5 separate regions of the Homo sapiens genome follow, and all the other regions are linked to region 1. The links are contacts of gene promoters, found by promoter capture Hi-C in blood cells and fetal thymus (Javierre and others, 2016). All regions are on one chromosome and are shown on one strand. The core of a region is centred on a gene start or on the middle of the fragment in contact, and the rest is flanking DNA. Distances in the headings are between cores, read along the strand shown.

Region 1 (2,594 bases), core at 95-2,594:
CACTAATTTAGAATCCAGTCTCAATTCTACCTTCAATACGGTGTGTGACCTTGAAAATGTCTCTTAATCTCTCTGAGCCTCATGAGTCAAATCAGGATAATGTTAATACCTGCTTCAGAGTTCTGGTGAGGAGCAAATGAAATAACTCCTGTAAAGATGTTTCAGGAATTCTGTCTGACCAGGAAAAAGCCCTTGGGGCCATTTCTTCTTGGTCCCTGACAAGTGCCAGGCTGACGAGCAGAACTCAGGGTGGGGCAGGAAGTCAGTGGACAGTTTTGTGCCCCACTCACTGCAAGGTGGCCTCCCAGACTTGGCTGGATGGGTGAACCTGGCCTGAAAATCAACCACAAGCCCCTTTTCGTTGTGTTTGGAGAGGAGCTGAAGCTGTGTGAATAGGAGTTGAGCATGCGGCTGGCAGAGCAGGCAGGACCCACAGAACACCTGGGCCCACTGCCTGAGGGACAGTCACTCCCTTCTTCATTTGGCTGCTGCCCTGGGATCAAACGGATACAATAGAACCCACGGCGCACGGCTGCCAAGGAAGGGCAGGCCCAAGGGATTGGGCTCCAAGTCCTGGAAGTGGTTTCCCAAGTCACTAGATTTGCAGCGCACAAAACCGGAAAGGTCCCGGTAAACCTGTCCACTGGCACCTGGGCAGCGAAGCGCTTTGGCCGGAGGGCCTCAGGTCCCAGCAGCGGGATGGACAGCGGGGAGATGGCTGACCCTCCTTGGGGTGGTGTGCGTGACCTGCATGAGTGCCTGGGGCATCTCCTGCACGGAATGGCACCCGCACCAGGTGCCCCTGGCCTCGCCAGCCAGAGGACCAGTCCTGGACGGGGAGGGGGAGGACAAGAGCAGGTGAACAGGCCCCAGAACCCGGCTCCCTGACCCTGGCCATAATGCAGAGCTGCCTGGCGCACCTCAGACCACTCCCTGGCCCTCTGGTGGGCACGCCGGGGTGCAGACCCCTCGCCCCGCTGGCACCTCCGTGGCACGTGCGGGAGGGGCAGGAGCCGGGACCAGGAACCGCTGTGGTGAGAGCCAAAGGCACGGGGACTGGCCGCCACAGACCTTTGGCCACCGCAGTGGGGATGGGGGTGGGCGGGCGCTTGTGTGCCCGGGGGCCCGGGGGCCCCCGTGGCGGGGGGGCTAGGGGAGAGGAGCAGGTGACGTCACCCGGGGACCTGGGGCCCCCAGGGGCGGCGGCGAGAGCCCGACCTCGTGACCCGTCCGCGCCAATGGCCCTGCGGTCTCCCGGACGACGCGGAGGGGTCCGCGCTGCACCGCCGCCGCGCCCCCGCCCCGTGTCCGCACTGCAGAGAGCCGCGGCGAGCAGGCGCCGGCGCACTGGCCCACGTGCTGCGCGAGCGAGGGAGAGCCACAGTCTGAGCGAACGTCCGCGCTGGGAGCCAGGGGTGCCCGACCCCCGTCCGCCGCCGCCGCCGCCGCCGCGCATAGCCCCCGGAGAGCCCTCTGGGGACCCCGACCAGAAGGGACCTTGCCCTGGGAGAAGGTAACAGACCCACCTGGGGAGGGAGACGCTGGGCCCCGGGAGACTCCGCCGCCCCTCGCCTGTCCGCCCTATCAGAACTGAAGCAGCCTGCAGGGCAGGGGTCCAGGGTCCTGGGGCAGCGCGGGGAGGGGGCTGAGGCCCGCAGAGACCCCACGGGGGGTGGGGGTGGGGGGCTGGGCAGGGGCGGGGCCTGGCTGCAGAGGCGCCGCCCGGGGAGGAGGGCGGCTGGGGGTGGGGGTGGGGGTGGGCGTGGATGTGGGCGTGCGGAGAGGTGGGCATTAACCTCGCTCTCGCCCTGCTCGCATTCACAGGCTGTGGAGACCTGGGCCTTCTGCGATCACCCTAGGAGTTGATCCAGATATGTGCCTCACGCCCTGATCACTCCCCCCAAATTAGTATCCGCAGAGATTCGAGGACATGCCGTTGACCTTGTTACAGGACTGGTGTCGGGGGGAACACCTGAACACCCGGAGGTGCATGCTCATCCTGGGGATCCCCGAGGACTGTGGCGAGGATGAGTTTGAGGAGACACTCCAGGAGGCTTGCAGGCACCTGGGCAGATACAGGGTGATTGGCAGGATGTTTAGGAGGGAGGAGAACGCCCAGGCGATTCTACTGGAGCTGGCACAAGATATCGACTATGCTTTGCTCCCAAGGGAAATACCAGGAAAGGGGGGGCCCTGGGAAGTGATTGTAAAACCCCGTAACTCAGATGGGGAATTTCTCAACAGACTGAACCGCTTCTTAGAGGAGGAGAGGCGGACCGTGTCAGATATGAACCGAGTCCTCGGGTCGGACACCAATTGTTCGGCTCCAAGAGTGACTATATCACCAGAGTTCTGGACCTGGGCCCAGACTCTGGGGGCAGCAGTGCAGCCTCTGCTAGAACAAATGTTGTACCGAGAACTAAGAGTGTTTTCTGGGAACACCATATCCATCCCAGGTGCACTGGCCTTTGATGCCTGGCTTGAGCACACCACTGAGATGCTACAGATGTGGCAGGTGCCCGAGGGGGAAAAGAGGCGGAGGCTGATGGAATGCTTACGGGGCCCTGCTCTCCAGGTGGTCAGTGGGCTCCGGG
Region 2 (2,594 bases), core at 69-2,568, 660 kb after region 1:
TGCCACTCTTGCCCACCTGTAATTTCCATTTTCTCATCCTAGTGTTTCCTTTGCCCTTGACCACCTACCCTCCATCTCCTTCCTTACACAGACATATAAAAGGGACTGCCTTCTCCTCACTTCTCCATGTCTTTCATGATTCAGAGCTCCCGGCAGGTTTTCACCTTCCCGATACTATTCTTTTTTTTTTTTTTTTTTTTTTTTGAGATGTCACCCAGGCTGGAGTGCAGTGGTGTGATCTCGGCTCACTGCAACCTCTGCCTCCCGGGTTCAAGCAATTCTCCTGCCTCAGCCTCCCGAGTAGCTGGCACTACAGGCACCTACCACCAAGCCCAGCTAATTTTTTTGTATTGTTAGTAGAGACTGGGTGTCACCATGTTGGCCAGGCTGGTCTCGAACTCCTGACCTCAGGTGATCCACCTGCCTCGGCCTCCCAAAGTGCTGGGATTACAGGCCTAAGTCACCGCACCCAGCCCACCCCTCCCCCATACCATTCTTAAAGCTCTAGATGCTTTTCTGGTAGATGGCCTAGTTTCCTCTCTTTCCCTCTCAATGTGGTCTTTTTTCCTCATTTTGCTGACTGTCACACTCAGAATTCTGGGTTTGAGACTCAGTCTTTCAGATCTGCTTCCCTTTCAGCCTCAGACCACAAGATAATACTTGTTTGGAACTTCCTGAAAAATTTAGGGTATGTGTCTGACTCCTCCCAGCCTTCCTGACTTTCCTAAGTTTGAAGACAGCAAGCTTGTAGATCAAATCTGTGATCAAACCCATTATCTTGAAAAAAATGTGTTTGCCTTTTCTAGCTCCACCCCTCTTTCCAACTTGGTCGCAGAGAGTACCAGATCATCTAAACAACAGATTTTAAGACAAGTAGTCATCGTAGCGCCTAGTAAAGCAGGACACACCAGGTGACTAGAGAGCAAGAATCTCCTAGGCATGGAGATTCTTGAGTCTCGGGGCACAAAACCAAGTGGGGAATAACTGTCCATGAGCCTGAGAATCACTTGGTGCTATGGTCTGAGTGCCCTTCAAACTTCATGTGTTGGAATTTAATCCTCACTGCCGTAGCATTAAGAGGTGGGGTCTTTTGAGAAGTGATTAAGTGATGAGAGCTCCACCCTCAAAGCAAGCGCCTTTCCAATGCCTTCATACATGGTCTGAGCTCCCATCCACCTCCCAGCCAGGCCCTGCTGATCAGAACGGCTATGTGAAGCAGGAGGCAGCAAACAGGGCCCCAGGCTCAAATAGGCACTTCGTAGTGGTCTAGTTTTGCCCGACTAGTTACCCTTAGCCTTGATTAAGGTACTTAGTTTTACCAAAAAAATCATCAGAAATACTCTGGCTGCCATGGAATGTAACATGTCCTCATTACGAGTTTCACGTGGGGAAGGCCCTGAGGTGAGGAGAGGCCCAGCCTCTTCGTGCCACTTTTACCTGCTGTCCCTAGGTCAACACCCCGGACACAAAGAGTCCCCCATTCAGTCGCTCCCTTGTGAGCTGGACTCTGAAGGTCCTCTCCCAGAGGAGGGCAAGGCCTTACCGTTACATCTCACTCTCCATGCAAACAGACCGTGAGATAGTCATCTGTTTGCCTGAGAGTATGTGGTGTGTGAGGGTCTTCTGATATTTCAGGCAGCCCTCTCCTACTCTCCACGCTGCCTCTGGAGGTCAGGAGAAAACTATGTGGCTTCCCTAACACAGACAGGGCTTTGGGATCCAGGCCACAGACTGAGGAGGAATCAAAGTCACAGGGGGGAGACTGAGCCCACTGAGCTCGGTGTCCATGGCTAGCCCATGGCTCCTTTCACAGCACCTGCCCCCTCAACCCCCCACTCACAAGGACAGCAGCAAGGAAAAGCCAGCAATGTAGAGATTCCTCTGGGCACGGAAAAGCTTCATGTGGAAGTGCTCCATGGCCCCGGGATTGTTCTGGAGGTTCACCTTTTCCGTCACATCATCATACTTCCGAATTTCGCGCACGGCATCTGTGGTGGAGCAGAGAGGAGACACGGGCATTTAGCGGACACTAGGGCAAGATAAGGCCATACCAGGCAGACAGGCGGCATGAGACAGGTCAGACTCACTTCCCTCAAATCCGCCTCCCCAGTTCTTCCCACTTCTATGCACATACACCCCTCATGGGATGCTGTTATCAGAAGCTCCCACCCTCAGGCCAGGTGCAGTGGCTCACGCCTATAATCTCAGCACTTTGGGAGGCAGAGGCGGGCAGATCACCTGAGGTCAGGAGTTCGAGACAAGCCTGGCCAACATGGCAAAACCCCATCTCTACTAAAAATACAAAAAAAAAAAATTTAGCCCGGCGTGGTGGTGGGCGCCTGTAATCCCAGCTACTCGGGAGGCTGAGGCAAAAGAATCATTTGAACCCGGGAGGCGGAGGTTGCAGTGAGCCGAAATTGAGCCACTGCACTCCAGACCGGGGGACAAGAGCGAAACTCCATCTCAAAAAAAAAAAAAAGGAAGCTCCCACCCTCAGACCCACTCCTTCCTCCAGCTTTTCAATCCCTGGCCCCATTCTACACAGGCCCCAGGCTTGCTCTGCAGTTCACGATGCTAACCAAGCCTAAAGAGTT
Region 3 (2,594 bases), core at 55-2,554, 600 kb after region 1:
CGTTTCCATTTCTTTATTTCCCTTACTTGACCTTTTTGTGATTAGCTGAATTTTCCTTCATTATTTGCTATTTTCTTCTACTAGTTTGGAAGTAGTACATCCTATTTATATTCTAGTTACTCTAAAAAATTTAACATGTATATTTGTCTTAACAAAACATAAAGTCTCTCAATATCAATACGGCCATGAGGGAATAAGAGGGTCCAGAATTACTGTCTCACCATAAACAGCTAGAAATTGGGCAAAATATATGAAAATCCATTGTTTTCAGATGGGGGACAGCAATCAGTGAAGGACTGTGGTCCCTGAGAGAAAGGAGACAGACTAGGAGAGCTCTACATCCCGGCTTTCTGACTCAGATAGAAGAGACATAAAAATGTGGCCCATATGGATTGCTTGAGCCCAGGACTTCAAGACCACTCTGGGAAGTATGGCACAACCCCATCTCTACAAAAAAATACAAAAAATTAGCCAGGCGTGGTGGTGCACACCTATAGTCCCAGCTACTCAGAAGGCTGCAGCAGGAGGATTGCTTGAGCTCAGGAGGTGGAGGTTGCAGTGAGCCGTGATCACACCAGTGCACTCCAGCCTGGGTGACAGAGAGGAATTTCAGTTTCTGGTCCAGCATGTAAGGAGCCTGCAAGTCATCAGTGTCTCCTAAGAAGAAGTAAAACCAGAACAGACTTAAAACTGAACACATATTTTGATATGTGTAATTGGAGGCTCTGAGGAAGAGGAGAAAGAGAAAGGGGCAGAATAAATATTTGAATAAATAATGGCTAAACACCAGCATTTGGTGAAAAGCATTCATCAGATCCAAGAAGTTCGAATAACCCCAAGTGAGATAAACACAAAGAGAGCCACTCATAGACATTTCATGGTAAATTATCGAAAGCCAAAGACAGACAATTTTGAAAGTATTATAGCAGAAGAAATAAATGACCCATATAGAAGGGAACCACAATAAAATTAACATCTGACTTCTCATCAGAAACAATGGAGGCCACAAGGGAGTGGAACAACAAACTGAAAGCACTGAAAGAAAAAAATACTATCAACCAAAAAAAATTTGTTTTGAGACAGAGTCTCAGTCTGTCACCCAGGCTGGAGTGCAGTGGTGTGATCTCAGCTCATCGCAGCCTCAACCTCCTGGGCTCAAATGATCTGCCTGCCTCAGCCTCCCAAAGTGCTCAGATTACAGGTGTGAACCACTGCACCCAGCCCCCAAATTTTATATCTAGCAAAACTATGCTTTAAAAATTGAAGCTGGGTGCATAGCTGGGTGCGGTGGCTCACGCCTGTAATCTCAACACTTTGGGAGGCCAAGGCAGGCGGATCACCTGAGGTCAGGAGTTCGAGACCAACCTGACCAACATGGTGAAACCCCGTCTCTACTAAAAATACAATAATTAGCCAGACATGGTGGCATGCACCTGTAATCCCAGCTACTTGGGAGGCTGAGGCATGAGAATCGCTTGAACCTGGGAGGCAGAGGTTGCAGTGAGCCGAGATCACATCACTGCACTCCAGCCTGGGTGACAGAGAGAGGCTCCATCTCAAAAAAAAAAAAAAAAAAAAAAAAAAAATTGAAGGTTTAAAAAAAGACATTCCCAGATAAACAAAGGCTAACATAGTTCATTGCTAGCCTGCCTCCTTACAAGAAATACTCAAGGAAGTCCTTCAGGCTGAAAGGAAATGACACCAGTTAGTAACTGGAATTCAAAGTAAGAAATGGAGAGCAGAAAAAATGGTTAATAAGTGAGCTAATATAAAAGCCTCTCAACATATTTTTATTCATTTCTTCTCTTTTAAAAACATAAGATTGCATTAAAAAATAGGTATTACACTGTATTTCAGGGCTTATAACCTATATAGATGTAATAAACATGGCATTACTAGCACAAAAGAAGTGGGAAAGAATGTAGCCATACTGAGGCAAAGTCTCCATATTTCACCAAAATTAAGTGAGTATTCATCTGAGGTGGATTGTGATTAGTTAAGACTCATAATGTAATAGCTAGAGAAAACCCTAAGAAAATAACTCAAACTTGGAGTGAATGAAGCATGTTTATGTCTAAATTTCTGCTTCAATGTAATTAAAAATCAACAGAGGAAAATTGGCCAGCACGGTGGCTCACGCCTGTAATCCCAGCACTTTGCGAGGCCGAGGCGGGCAGATCACTTGAGGTCAGGAGTTCAAGACCAGCCTGGCCGACATGGGGAAACCCTGTCTCTACTAAAAATACAAAAGAAAATTCAAATATAACAGATGGACATTTCAATGCTCTATTTTCAATAGTTGATGGAACTAGACAGAAGATCAGCAAGGATATATAAAATCTGAACAACACTATCAACAAATTTGACCTAACTGATACCTATAGAACACACCATTCAACAATTGCCAAATACACATTTTTTTCAAGTGCACATGAAACATTCTCCAGGATAGACCATAAAACAAGTCTCAATATATTTAAAGGAATTTAAATAATTTAAATAATATAAAATATTTCTCTGACTGCAACAGAATTAAATTATAAATCTAAAAAGATAGAAACCTAGGAAGTCCAAAATACTTGGAAATTATACAA
Region 4 (2,594 bases), core at 60-2,559, 580 kb after region 1:
CAGGCTGTCCTTCCTCTTCCTCAGTCTCGGTCTGGAATAGCTAAAGAAAGCAAAACTACCTCCTCTGAGTTGAGTCTCTTTTCACGGAGACCCTCTTCTGTTGCCAGGCGCCAAATATCATGAAAACTGTAACTGGTTAAAAAAAAATCACCTGCATAAAAATCTTTAAAATTCATTTCAACAACAAAACTGTGTATGATAAAGGGTCATTCCACCAAGAAAACATAGCAATCTTAAATGCGTATACACCAAACCACAGAACTGCAAAATATGTGAAGCAAAAACTCATAAAACTGGAGGGCTAGGTGCAGTGACTCATGCCTGTTACCCCAGCACTTTGGAAGACTGAGGCCGGCAGATTGCTTTGGCTCATGAGTTCAAGACCAGCCTGGGCAACATGGCAAAACCCCATATCTACAAAAAAATATAAAAATCAGCCGGGTGTGGTGGTGTGTGCCTGTGGTCCCAGCTACTTGGGAGGCTGAAGTGGGAGGATCACCGGAGCCTGGGAGGTTGAGACTGCAGTGAGCTGTGATTATCCTACTGCACTCCAGCCTGGGCAACAGAACCAGATCCTGTCTCAATAACAAACAACTCTAATAAAACTGGAAGGGGAAATAGACAAATCCACAATTATGGTTGGAGATTTTAACACACTTCTCTCAAAAATTGACAAAACAACTAGACAGAAAATCAGCAAATTATAAAAGAACTCAACATTACCATCTATAAACAGGATCTGATAGACATTTACAGAACACTCTGCCCAACAACAGCAGAATACCCATGGGGCACATCCCAATATAGACGATATCCCAGGCAAACCTCAACGAATTTAACAGAGCTAAAATCATACAGTGTGTTCACTGACCACAATAGAATCAAATTCCAAATGAATCACAGCAAAATCTCCAAACACCAGGAAAGTAAACAACATGCTTCTAAATAGCCCATGGGTCCAAGAGGAAGTCTAAAGGAAAAACTTTTTAAATACACCAAAATAGTCAAAAACAAAACTACAAAACAGGAAAATTTGTGGGATGCAGCTAAAGCAGTGCCCTGGGGGACATTTATAGCACAAAAAGAAAGGCAATTTTTTCTCTCCCTAAAAAGGAATCAGTTTCTCAGAGGCAGGTTGGTGCATGGGAGAGGGTTGACTTGAACAATATCTGGAGAGCTCAAAGCTTTCAAAAAACATTAAACCCTGAATATATCGGGAAGCTGGAAGATGTTAGAGCACTTACATTTACTTTCCTGGATCCAGACTTCACATCGAAGAGTTTAATTGAACTCTGGGTCTACCTCCAGCTGGCTGAATTAGTCTGAACAAGAACAAGTCATTCAGATGTTCAGAGTCTTCATTTCCTCATCTGTGAAATGCTAAGACCCTCAACTTCACAGGGATCTTTTTGAGTTAAACGATAGAGCACTTAAGAAAGCTTCCCGAAACTCCCGAAGCACTGCATTCATTTGCTAGAGCTGCTGTCAAAAAATGCTGCACACGGGATGTGTGAAAACAGCACACATTTATTCTCTCCCAGCTCTGGAGGCCAGAAGTTCAAGATCAGGGTGTCGGCAGGGCTGTGGTCCCTCTGAAGGCTGGAGGGAAAGGTCCGTCCCAGGCCTCTCCCCTGGCTTCTGTCGGGTTGTGGCTGATCTTTGGTGTTCTCTGGCTTGTGGATCTCTGCCTCCACAGCAAGCTCTATACTAAGGCTGTACTAGAAAGTGTTAGCCTTGTCTCTATTGTATCCTTTGATATATATATACATATATATATAGCTCAACCTTGGCTGCCTCCTTGCCAGTTGGCCTACGTGGCTGAGAGGCGTTCTGCTGTCCCCGTCCTTGTGAAGGTATATGCACAGCTATGTGTGGACATAGTGTGGCTGCTCTGGCTCCGGACAGGGCCAGCTTCCTCACTGCTTCCAGCCCCATCTCACCCAGGGCCTCTGCAGCCCTGGGAGCAGCCAGGCTCTCGGCGCACATCTCTGAGCCTGCCCAGGAGGATTCGGGCAGTCACCCGAGCACCTGGTCCCTCACGGAGGCGCACTCTGCCTGAATCCCTCCTCCCAGATGACGAGCGCTCACACGAGGCTTCGGTTTCCTCAGTAACCAAGGCCTGCAGCTGACTGGTCACAGAATTCCAGGGAGAGGTGTCCCAGGGACCACCATTGTGATGACATGGCAGCTGGCCCTCCTCCTGCCCCTGTCCCCCCTTATTCCTCTAGCGCACGCCTAGCCAGCCCCTGGGGGGTGGCCAGCCCGCCTCAGGCCAGGCCAGCTGAGGGAGACTGGGAGGCCTGTGGCCAGCCTGGCCCTGGCAGCCACACTCTGTGCTCTCTGAGACGGCGCACAGCCACCTGGAGCATCATGAAACCATGAAGGGTGCCCAGGTGCCAGGAGAAGGGAGCAGGGCTAGGCCGGGGCTGGGCTGGGAAGGCCGGAGGGGCCTCCAACAGAGGTCAGGGTGCATTTAGAGAAAGGGAATGGCAGAAACAAGGGACTGACAGCAGCAACAGGGACCCAGCGGGCTCCCTGGAGCAGAAGTGGGGACAGGTGGGCAGGTGAGAGGCAGGGGGAGAAAAGGCTCAGTG
Region 5 (2,594 bases), core at 55-2,554, 520 kb after region 1:
TATGTCTCTTTGCCATCTCTCTCTGTGCTTCCTGTCTGTCTGTCCATTTGCCCATTTGTTGAGTTAAGGGGAAGGCAGCCACCACGGCCCCACTCCACGCGTTCCTCGAGCCTTCTCCACAGCTCTGGCCTCATCCCACCCCAGGACCAGCTCCTTGTCCCTCTCCAGGTCCAGCCCAGCCTCTGTGGGGCCTGCTGTCTTTTCTCCCTCTGGATTCCTCCTGCTTCCTCCCTGGGGCAGCCTCTTGCTCCTCTCTTCCTTGGCTCCTAGCACTTCCTTCCTGCCTTCATTCCGTGGCCATCTGTCCCCCTCCTCCCCACCTCCGGAGCCTGGCAGTGCGGGGTAAGTAGAGTGGGAGAGACGCCACCCCTCCTGCTGTTCACAAGCTATTCCATGGGGGCCCTAAGTGGCGGATAGCCAGAAGGAGGGCAGCTGTCCCTTGCACACTGTGTGCTCCAGCAGAAGGTGGGTGGCAGGGCCCTCTGAAGAGGCCCATCCCAGCTGAACATCAGCATCCCAGAAAGGACTCTGCCGTGGAGGAAGATGCTGGCTGGGGACCTGGCAACACCAAGGACATGCCCACTTCTGGAAGCCACCTGCCAGAACCACCTCCTGCCATCATCACAGTGCAGCGGATTGGTTTAGAACTCAGAACCCAACCCCCACTCCACGCTTCAAGGACCCCAAGCAATCACCAAGCCCAGCACTCTCATCCTAGAGATCAGGGGAAGGAGGTTGTCCCCAAGGGCCAGGACCTGCACTGGGTCCCATAAGCAGCCAGGCCTGGCAGAGTGGGGACTAGCACCAGCGCCCACCCTCTACTTGGAACTTTCTGGTGGATGAGAGATGCTCTGAAGGCTGTGACGGAGCTCCCCTAGACAAGAGGGCTGCCCCAACTAGGCCTGCAGGGGCGTCGAGTCACGTGGTTTCCTAAGGCAAGCCCACAGTTTCCCATCCTCTTTGCCTGCTCCAGGCCAGGCTGCCTTTCAGCCCACCAGGAGTCTGGGGCCTTTCTGGGCACTGGAGCTGCCTCCGTCCCAAGCCTTTCCTACTAAGGACCTCAGGTCCTCCAGAGAGAAGGGCCGGTGGTTGGTAGCATGACATCCCCTCACCCTGTGCCCCTGGGGCCAATGCAGGAAGTAGCAAGGGGGTGGCTAGGAGGGGTCGAGAGATTTGGGATCGCTGGGGCTCAGTGCTCACACACTCGAGCCCTCCCCACCCTGTCTAACCTCCCACACCTTTGCTGCTTCTGGACTCAGGAGTCCCAACACAGGCCCCATATCCCTCCTCTGCATGCATTGTCAGACTGTGCCGGCCACAACTTCTGACCCCCAGCTCCAGGCAGCCTCCACTGCCCCTCCCCTGCCCAGCCTGGTGACTACCCCACACCATGCCCCAACCACACACTCACACACCGAGGCCACAGTATCACCCTCCCTGTTGGGTGTCCATATTCCGGAGAGCTGGTCAGGGACAGCTGGTTCAGTCACTCGGGTCTACCAAGGGCAGCAGGCACAGGGGGCTGCGCGTCTGCCACTAGGAGGCACGGGAGGGTGCGCGATCATTTGGAAAGCCCCATCAAAGCCACTTGAGAGGCCTTTTATGTCTGTTTTCCACTGGGACACACAGACAAACCCCAGCCACGCATCCAAAGTCTATCCTTCCAGCAGCGCCACACCAGGCCTGTGTGAGATGCTTACTGTTGGAGTCGTTCCTGAGATGCCTCCTGACCTGGCCCAGCAAAGGAGCAGGGGTTAGGCAGCAGGCCATGAGTCTGGTCCCATGTGGCCACCGGGGGTCCCTCCGGGCCGTTTAGTTCCAGTTAATCATGCTGGAAACAGATCACAGCAGTTGCTTGGTTTTATTGGCTTTGGCAACATGAAAACCGTGTGGCCAAAGGGGCCAAACCGGGCCACGTGAGTCCCAGGCTTTCCCTGGACACTCCTTTCCAGGGCCCAGGGCGACATGCTCACCACACTCCCAGCCCCGTGGTGGAAGGAGTCTTGTTTTCTGGAGTTTGCTCCATTCTCAGGAAGGTCATGTGCTTTGAGCCAAGCCTCCCTACCTGGTTTCTGGGAACGGTGTATTGGCATTTTTTCTCAGATCTTTGACAGTCTGCACCCTGCCTCCATGCTGGAAGCAGTAGCAACCCTCCCCCAAGAGCCCTGCCCTAGGCTTTCCTGGAACCCTGGGCCCTACCACAGGGGAATGCCCTTCCAGGCAAACCCTAAAGTAGGCACCAGAACGCAGCCTAGGGCAGACCCCAGGACCCCTGGTCCAAGGCCCTCCCCATCAGGCACTCCGAGTGTGGACTCCCAAGCTGGGAACCTGGGCAGAGACCTCTCAAGACTAATTGGAGGTCCCGCAGCTGGATTCAGCCAGTACGGAGGCAAGGGCTCAGCTGGGCCTTCCTCCTGGGTCCTCTTTAGTCCGACCACCCGACACTGACTCGCCGCGCCCAGGTCAGTTCAGCTTGCTGGTGTTGGGAGCACAGGTCTAGGCTCACACGGTCCTGGGCATGAGTGTGCACACAAGGTGGGAGGCAATTTTCATGAAACTTGCCAGCTGCAAGCAGTTCTGGCTTGCCAACACAC

What was found. The method cuts DNA at HindIII sites, captures the fragments that hold promoters and counts their contacts. A CHiCAGO score of 5 or more calls a contact.
Region 2: a fragment that was not itself captured here is called in contact with the fragment with the promoter of PNMA3 in region 1 in 1 of 17 cell types (activated CD4 T cells); the score reaches 5.6 in activated CD4 T cells.
Region 3: a fragment that was not itself captured here is called in contact with the fragment with the promoter of PNMA3 in region 1 in 11 of 17 cell types (total B cells, naive B cells, M2 macrophages and 8 more); the score reaches 10.4 in total B cells.
Region 4: a contact is called between a fragment that was not itself captured here and the fragment with the promoter of PNMA3 in region 1, in 11 of 17 cell types (naive B cells, naive CD8 T cells, M1 macrophages and 8 more). The highest score is 9.3, in naive B cells.
Region 5: a contact is called between a fragment that was not itself captured here and the fragment with the promoter of PNMA3 in region 1, in 5 of 17 cell types (total B cells, naive CD8 T cells, M1 macrophages and 2 more). The highest score is 8.5, in total B cells.

Annotation. Positions count from the first base shown.
Region 1 is chrX:153,055,126-153,057,719 of GRCh38, forward strand. It overlaps PNMA3 (PNMA family member 3), which reads left to right and starts at 1,345. Exons shown (of 2, transcript NM_013364.6): 1 at 1,345-1,513; 2 at 1,825-2,594. The coding sequence starts at 1,931. The HindIII fragment of the contact is 3,087 bases long and covers 1-2,594 here.
Region 2 is chrX:153,713,702-153,716,295 of GRCh38, forward strand. BCAP31 (B cell receptor associated protein 31) reads right to left here. Exons shown (of 8, transcript NM_001256447.2): 4 at 1,841-1,988. Among named protein-coding and RNA genes, the nearest start is that of BCAP31, 9.4 kb to the right of the region's middle. The HindIII fragment of the contact is 1,152 bases long and covers 743-1,894 here.
Region 3 is chrX:153,658,484-153,661,077 of GRCh38, forward strand. No RefSeq gene overlaps it. Among named protein-coding and RNA genes, the nearest start is that of DUSP9, 13 kb to the left of the region's middle. The HindIII fragment of the contact is 4,415 bases long and covers 1-2,594 here.
Region 4 is chrX:153,630,459-153,633,052 of GRCh38, forward strand. No RefSeq gene overlaps it. Among named protein-coding and RNA genes, the nearest start is that of DUSP9, 15 kb to the right of the region's middle. The HindIII fragment of the contact is 255 bases long and covers 1,183-1,437 here.
Region 5 is chrX:153,571,351-153,573,944 of GRCh38, forward strand. The region is part of intron 21 of ATP2B3 (ATPase plasma membrane Ca2+ transporting 3); the gene reads left to right. Among named protein-coding and RNA genes, the nearest start is that of CCNQ, 26 kb to the right of the region's middle. The HindIII fragment of the contact is 8,767 bases long and covers 1-2,594 here.